Regions from separate parts of the Homo sapiens genome. Here all the other regions are linked to region 1. The links are contacts of gene promoters, found by promoter capture Hi-C in human tissues and cell types (Jung and others, 2019). All regions are on one chromosome and are shown on one strand. The core of a region is centred on a gene start or on the middle of the fragment in contact, and the rest is flanking DNA. Distances in the headings are between cores, read along the strand shown.

Region 1 (2,657 bases), core at 48-2,547:
ACAGGCGTGAGCACCGCGCCCGGCCAGAAATCCTATTTTCTTTCACATGAGTTATTTTGTTGATTGTTTGCTTATAACTAAAGCCCTCAGAATCAGAGTTTATACTGTATCTTTTTCTGTGTTCCTACATAGATGGCAATAAATGATTCTAATGTTTATGATGTAGAAGCTGAGGAGGCTAATACCTATTTCTGGCTCCTTTTAGGAGACACAGTCATAACAAAAAATATTGCTTAATGTGCGAGGCACAGTGCCAAGTGGTTTACATACATTGTGTAATTCTCCCCCTAAAAAAGTCAATGAAGTTGATACAATTATTATTTCATTATATGTAAAATAGGGAAAATAACAGCATTTATCTCAGAGGGCTGTTGTAAAGATTAAATGAATGCCTGTAATCCCAGCACTTTGAAAGGCCGAGGCAGGCAGATCACCTTAGCTCAGGGGTTCGAGACCAGCCTGGCCAACATGGTGAAACCTGGTCTCCACTAAAAATACAAAAAAATTAGCTGGGCATGGTGGTGCGCGCCTGTAATTCCAGCTACTCGGGAGGCTGAGGCAGGAGAATAGCTTAAACCCGGGAGGTGGAGGTTGCAGCGAGCCGAGATCGCGCCACCACACTCCAGCCTGGGCGACAGAGCGAGACTCTGTCTCAAAAAAAAAAAAAAAAAAGTAAATGAGAATATACATAAAGCACTTAGCACAATGGCATACTATTTACTATAGTTTACTATTTATTGCAACTCTCATTTTGCAGGTATCTTGCCTAAGGTGCAAGCAGAAGAAACAGGATTTTCAACCCAGATCTGAAAACTCCCAAGCCTCTGCCTTTTTCTTTTTATCCTTTTTCTTTTTCCTTGTTAAAAAACTTGCTTCCTGTACAGAGAGGGGAAATGCTCAGTCCCCACGTCAGTGGTTGAACTCCAAGCCAGAAGATCCCTATTTTGATTTTGTCCTCTGGCCTGTCGCCAGCCCCTCAACAGTACTTGAATTAATAAAAGGGCAGGTTTTAAGCCTCATGTATCTGCGCAGGTGACTCCTTCTGTGACCCCGAATAAACCTGTTCCGGTCCCGTTCCGGGGAAACAGCCTTGCCTTCCCCTGCCCCCAGAAAGTTACCCTCGCCCTCCGAGCCACAACTCCCCACGCCGCCAACTCGGTCTTTACATCATTTTCGACGCCCCCTAAGTCCCTCCCGAGAGGCGCAGGCGCACATCGCCCCTTCTAGCGAACTACATCTCCCACAATCCCAATCGGCCGGACCACCTCCGCTCGGGGCGGGGACGGAGGTGGAGCTGGTGGTCCCCGGTCGGGACGAAGGCTCCCGAGGTGCCCTGCCTGGGTCCTCCGGGGTAAAGTTCGTTTGGCGGAAGATTGTCCGTTTTCCTGGTAAGGTCACCTGTCCCAATCAGGTACGATTCTGCCTTCCGTACCCCCGAGCCCCTCAGTGTAAAGTGGCAAATGGTCTAGCCCGGCGGAGGCACCAGCTGGAGGCGGTGGGAGGGACACCCGCAGTGAAGGGCGGACCGCGCACGCATGCGCAGAGGCGCGGCAGGGGGGCGGGAGCCGCGGAACCCCTACCCCAGGTCTGCGCAGGTGAGGAGGGGGCGGGGCAGGACCGACCTCCCTTGCCATGATAACCACCTTCGCAGCCGGCTCCCAGACCGTTGGCACCGATTGCCTAGAAAATAGGGGGTCTCAGGAGCTCCGTTTTAGCGTTTATATATCCCAATTCCAATTAAGCCACTTCCAGTATTTTTTGGCCATTGTCAGTGTACAAGTCTTCCTCCTCTTCGAGACCATGTTATTGCAATAGCAGCAAACGTGTTGGGAGGCCTCACAATTCATCATGGTTTTTCTGGCCTCTGGCAGATAGCTCCTTCCTAGCGAGCTGTGGAGCTTAAAGTCTTTTGGACACTTGATTCTATTCAATCCAGTATCAGACCAGGTACGTACCTTGTCCATAAGTCGTCTTATGAGAAGACTTCTTGAGATGATGCAGACTCTCGTGCAGTTTATAATCGGCTGGAGGTATAGACAGTTAAGCAAGCCTCCTTTTTTACTGTGCCCACCCCTAACCATTTTGCTTACACCTTGTTATGGGACTTGGTTAAATTGCTTAACCTTCCGGACCTACGTTTTCTCATTAAATGAGAAGATTGGATTAGATGATCTCTAAGAACTTTCCACTTGTAAAATATACGGTTAGTTAGTGAGGGGTAGAATCCAGATTCTATCTATCTATATTTTTTTGAGACAGAGTCTCACTCTGTTGCCCAGGCTGGAGTGCAGTGGCACGATCTCGGTTCACTGCAACCTCCACCTCCCGGGTTCAAGCGATTCTCTTGCCTCAGCCTCCCGAGTAGCTGGGACTGCAACCTCCAGTTAATTTTTGTATTTTTAGTAGAGACAGGGTTTTGCCATGTTAGCCAGGCTGATCTCGAACTCCTGACCTCAGGTGATCCACCCACCTCGGCCTCCTAAAGTACTGGGATTACAGGCGTGTGCCACCGTGCCTGGCCCCACAATATGTTAACACTAAACTTCATCAGCTTCCACTTTTCTGCCCACATCAGTGAAATATAGCTATAAGAATGCAGCTGGTGGGGCTGGGTGCGGTGGCTCACGCCTGTAATCCCAGCACTTTGGGAGGTCGAG
Region 2 (2,657 bases), core at 106-2,605, 200 kb after region 1:
GGGGCATGCCAGGACATCCTCTTTAAAGGACCAATTATTGTATCTTGCCCCTCCCACCACTAGGAAGGAAGCATTGTGCTGTGGAGGCCTCAGGGTTCTGGAGGCAGCATGTTCCACGCCTAGGAATACTGACTGTTCCAATATGTTTATCAAACCACACAGGAGGCTGCTGGCACGGAGGGGCCCCAGGCAGGAAAGGGCCCTGCAGAAGGTATGGGCCGTGCAGCCTGCAGCCCTATGCACACCTCAGGACTGGTACATTACCCACCAGGGACGGCCTGTGAATCCAACCTGGGGAATGTGTGACTTCGCATATCCTTGAAGTGTCTGGGGTGGGAAAAGATGCTGGGTGGAGTTTATGGCAAATCCCAAGAGGAAAGTCACAACATAGATACGAGAGTTCTGGGGTCAGGCGGGGCCATCTGCAGCAGATAATTGTACTCTGTTTGAAAAAGCAGCTCCTGGGACGCTATGGGGTCCCGGCAGAGACAGAGCTTCTGACGAGGGACGCGAGGTGATGGTGCTGCCCAGAAGTGACCATCATGAGGCCTGAGACCCAGTAGGTCCTGAGATGGGGTCAGAGGGTGCATGTTGGCCACATGCAGGTGGCTCGGACTCCTGTCCCCTCTACCCCTGTCGCACCGTGTCTGTGTCTGCTCACATGATGACCATAAAGGGGGATGGGTAATTATGCCTAGCAGAAGTAGGAGGAAAGGCCGGCCTGGTTTCATGGCAAGGTTAGCATGGTATGTGGGCACACACCGAAAGTGGCCCGCTGCTGCACTTCAGCCCCAACCAGGGAGAAAGTGTCCCCACGGGCAGAGCTTTGGGCCGTGGGTCTGATCATCACCTTTATGTGGAAAGAAAAGCAGCCCAAGATCAGGCCAGCTGTGGGATCCCAGGCAGGGGTTAGTGACAAGCCTGGTGGTCAGGGGCCCTGGGGAAGGAAGACTGGAAGGTTAGGGACAAGGACGTTTGGGAAGAAGGATGGACCTGAGGGAGTAGCTGGAGCGTGGAGATTTCTGCATCCCATATTAACTCCCACTGAGAGCATGTATCATAGACAGCAGACAGCCAGGGAGACATGATGACACAGCCAGTGGATGTCAGCCAGCCTCTGCCACTGGTCACCTGTACATGGCACAGGGCTCATGAACACAGCAGCCGTGGTGGCAGGGATGGAGGCTGCGCGTGGGCCTGAAAGAAGGGGCTCCCACTCCCACGGCTGGGTAGCCACCACTGCTGTGGAATGTCCAACCTGCCTGCGACAGAGATCAATGCTGAGCCCCTGATATGACGGCATTCCCCGAGGAGACTGACCAGCCACCTGGTAGCAAGCTGATGACGTCGACTCTTGCACCACTCTGGAAGGGGCAGTGGTGCATCCTGGCTGGAGCTAACCTTTAGTTTAGGAGTGATTTGCTGTTCGTGTCCTGCAGGGCCTGTCAGGATTCCCAAGGTTTCACAGGTGTTTTCTCTCCTGGTAGAGGATCCTGTTAGGTGTTGAATTCTGTTCCTACAAAATTCATGTTCTGGGCCAGGCGCTGTGGCTCACGCCTGTAATCCCAGCACTTTGGGAGGCCAGGGCGGGCAGATCACTTGAGGTCAGGAGTTTGAGACCAGCCTGGCCAACATGGGGAAACCCTGTCTCTACTAAAAACACAAAAATTAGCCGGGCGTGGTGGAGGGCACCTGTAATCCCAGCTACTTGGGAGGCTGAGGCAGGAGAATCACTTGAACCCAGGAGGCGGAGCTTGCACTGAGCCGAAATCATGCCACTCCACTCCAGCCTGGGTGACAGAGTGAGACTCCGTCTCCAAAAAAAAAAGAAATTCATATGTCCTAATCCCTCTACCTCAGAATGTGACTGTATTTGGAGATAGGGTTGCTGCAGAGGGGATCAGTTAAGTTAGAATGAGGGTATAGTGGAGCAGGGTGAGCCCTCCTCCCGTGACTGGTGTCTGTATAAAGGAGGGGCAATGTGGACACAGACACTCACATAGGGAGAAGGCTTGTGAAGATCAAGGCAGAGACTGGGTGATGCCTCTAGAAGCCAAGGAACGCCAAAGATCGCCAGCAACCCTCAGAAGTTAGGGTAGAGGCCTGGGACAGATCCTCCCTCACAGCCTCCAAGGAAACCATCCTAGTGACACCTTGATTTTGGACGTCTGGCCTCGAGAACCGTGAGAGAATCAATTCCCGTTGTTACAGCTGCGCAACGAGTGCTACTTTGCTACAGCAGCCCCGACAAACTAGTAGAGACGCCGTATCACATGGTGCCAGACCAATGGGCCCACTGACAGTGAAGGCGGGACCCCCCTGGTCGTATCCCACCCTGCACCACCCAGCAGCTGCCAGACTGGAAGAAGGACGGAGCGGCCTGTTGAAAGTGCAGGGGAGGCGCCAGCTTGGAGATGACACCTGGTGAGGGCAAGGCATTGTCCTCCAGCCCCTGGCATGCACCCAAGACCAACAATCATGTGGGGCTGTGTCCCCAGCAGGTGGAACACCTGCGTCAGGAAGCAAGCGCAGGGCAGGAGTGGCCCTGTTCACCCTCATCATGCCCAGTGACCTACTGGGGAAACCGCTGCTCCCTGGCCTTGTGATTTGAGGCTCTGTGGGTCTAGGGCAGGGCCAGCAAACAAAGGCCCACGGGG
Region 3 (2,657 bases), core at 75-2,574, 180 kb after region 1:
TTTCACTTTTGGAAAAAGACATGTTAGAAACATCTGTGCTTTAGAGCATGTTTCCATATGATTACGTGGCAGATTTCCCACACTGTGAAATTGAACTCTTGTTTCTTCGCATTGTCAGCCGTATTTGCTATACACAGTCCAACACTATTGCTGACTGAGGAATGTATTTTAGTTTGTCATATTGTAGAAAGAAGAACAAGGGGCATGTGGCTTTTTGTCTTTTGCTATTAAGAACCCCCAAAGCAGTTTCTAAACACTGTCACCAATTACGAAATTTTGTAAAGAACCAAAACGAATGAGTATCATATGACTTTAAACACTCTTGGAAAGAAATTGTGGGGGTTTGCTTTTCTGGAAAATGTCTTCCTAATGTGATGGCTTCATACTGTGATTAGCTAATATGTCAAGGCTGCTGTTATCTTATTCACTTGTGTATTAATAGTACTATCTTTAATTTCCAATTTATTTGCAAGAATCTTGTCACATCCATTTTGTGAGCATTAATTTAGTTAAAACTAGCTAACGACCTGTAAACACACATCAAGCCAAGTAAATGGTTAGACATAATCACAAACTCCAAAAGTGTACAAGCAGAAGCATCGCTGCGCATTTCCACCTTGTGAGTTTCTCACTCTGTTCTCAAGTGTGTCACACATCACTGAATGTGACAATGTGATGCTCTGGCATTTGGACCAAGTGAAGGTGCTTGTGCTAGGTTATATATCAAATATCAAAAGCTTAATTTATTTCTTATTAAAGAATGTAAATAGAATTTCACTGCACTTCGGTGGACCCTGTAATCCAACGCAAACCCCTAGGGTGGGTGCACCCTGGATTAGAAATCACTGCTTTAGAACCTTCCAGAAGAATAAATTCACTTCTTTCTGGGAGGAGAGTTTGGTAGATGAAAGGAGAAGAGTCCTAGCTGAGTAGCAGCCCAGTGGCACAGACTTTGAGGGTGTACAAACACTAGCTCCAGGATGTTCAGGAAGGAATCTGAGCCGTTCTACTCTGGAATCTCCAGAATGTCTTTCTCCTTGGTGCTTTATCATCCTATACATTTCCTCATCCCAGTAGGCAGGCAATTCAGTAAAAGATAGTAGTGAAGCTGGCACAGTGGCTCACACCTGTAATCCCAGCATTTTGAGAGGCTGCAGCAAGAGGATCACTTGAGCCCAGGAGTTTGAGACCAGCCTGGACAACAAAGAGAGACCCCCATATCTGCAAAAAATACAATTAGTTGGATGAGGTGGCAGAGGCCTGTGGTCCTAGCTACTCAGGAGGCTGAGCCTGGAGAATCGCTTGAACTCCAGGAAGTCAAGGCTACAATGAGCCGTGATCACACCACTGCACTCCAGCCTGGGTGACAGAGTGAGATGCTATTTCAAAATAGTAATAATGATGATGATGAAGCAAACGGTGGGAACACTAAACTAGTTTAGTGGTGAGGGATACACATTGCAGCAGGTGACCTGCAGTAAGAGATGTTTAAGGGGAGGCAGAGTATAAGTAGGAGATAGGAAAAGAAGAGGGATACAGCATTCTAAATAAAGGGAACAGCATATTTGAAGGTCTAGTCTGTGTTCACATGGCTTGAGGAAAGATTGAGTGTGGCTGCATGCTCACTGCATACTGAGAAAGATGTCTGTTTTTAAGCAGTAACATGGAAGACAGCCATACGCCTTTTCAAGTGGTAACTAAGTATCTCTTAAACAGAGACTGGCCTACTGGTTAAGAGTCTGAGTTCTGAAGTTGACTTAGGTTGCTATCCCACCTCCGTCACTCTGGGATCTTGGGCAAGTTACTTAATCTTTTTTCCTGCTTCCTCATGGGGACTATAATAATATCTATATCATAGTGGTGTGATGAATTTTTAATCAGTTAATGCACACCAAGAGCTTAGTTTAGTGTCTGGCACAGTGTGCTCAGTAATTTTGGTTATTTTTTTCTGACCATCGTGGTTACTGTTTTTCCTACTTCAGGAGGGCTCAGAGGGAAGATCTAGTTTTTCTGGAGAAAACCTGAAGGATCAAATAGCCCCAATGATCAAAACTTCATAGTCTGCAACCTCAATTGAGCTGAAATTAAAAACCTACACTTACTTCACATCTCTACCCTACAGCTTTTCTTCTCATTTTCAACAGATGTTCCTCCACCCAGCTCCTAGTTTCTTGGAAAATACAGTCAACAGATCAGGTTTCAGCTCTCCATCACCAAAACTTCAAACTCACCTGCACCTGCTTCCATTCTGTCTTTCCCTGTCGTTGGGAAGACATCCTTCTTTCAGTCAAATGAAAATCTCTCTGTCTGGTTCCGTGAGCCACCCCTTCATAGGGATGGCTATCCGTTGATTATTTTTACGTTTTTTCATGACTTTATCTCCTCTCTTTAGTTTCTTCTTGTTAACAGTTACACATTCTCAAGTCTCTCCCAATTTAAAAAGGCGTATATGCTGCTTTCACTCCAGAAGCCGTCCTTCCTGTTATTATTCGTAGCCAAATCTGTCTACATTTGTCCACAACTATCTTTGTTTTCTCACTTATGTATTCCTCAGCCCACTGAGCTTATCTTTCTGTCCCGTTTTGCTTATTCTCTTCTCACCCAGATCATCAGCTAATTTCTAGTATTCAGATCTATTAGACATTTTATAGCCTTGA

Evidence for each region. Contacts are between HindIII fragments. The study calls those that stand out against the background at their distance.
Region 2: a fragment that was not itself captured here is called in contact with the fragment with the promoter of DNAJC28 in region 1 in 2 of the 25 tissues and cell types used here (IMR-90 fibroblasts and lymphoblastoid cells).
Region 3: a contact is called between a fragment that was not itself captured here and the fragment with the promoter of DNAJC28 in region 1, in 2 of the 25 tissues and cell types used here (dorsolateral prefrontal cortex and mesendoderm cells).

The regions. Positions count from the first base shown.
Region 1 is chr21:33,490,356-33,493,012 of GRCh38, reverse strand. DNAJC28 (DnaJ heat shock protein family (Hsp40) member C28) reads left to right here and starts at 1,297. Exons shown (of 2, transcript NM_001040192.3): 1 at 1,297-1,411. The HindIII fragment of the contact is 10,582 bases long and covers 1-2,657 here.
Region 2 is chr21:33,290,444-33,293,100 of GRCh38, reverse strand. All of the region lies in intron 12 of IFNAR2-IL10RB (IFNAR2-IL10RB readthrough), which reads right to left. All of the region lies in intron 6 of IL10RB (interleukin 10 receptor subunit beta), which reads right to left. Among named protein-coding and RNA genes, the nearest start is that of IL10RB, 25 kb to the right of the region's middle. The HindIII fragment of the contact is 8,664 bases long and covers 1-2,657 here.
Region 3 is chr21:33,314,849-33,317,505 of GRCh38, reverse strand. No RefSeq gene overlaps it. Among named protein-coding and RNA genes, the nearest start is that of IFNAR1, 8.8 kb to the left of the region's middle. The HindIII fragment of the contact is 3,971 bases long and covers 1-2,657 here.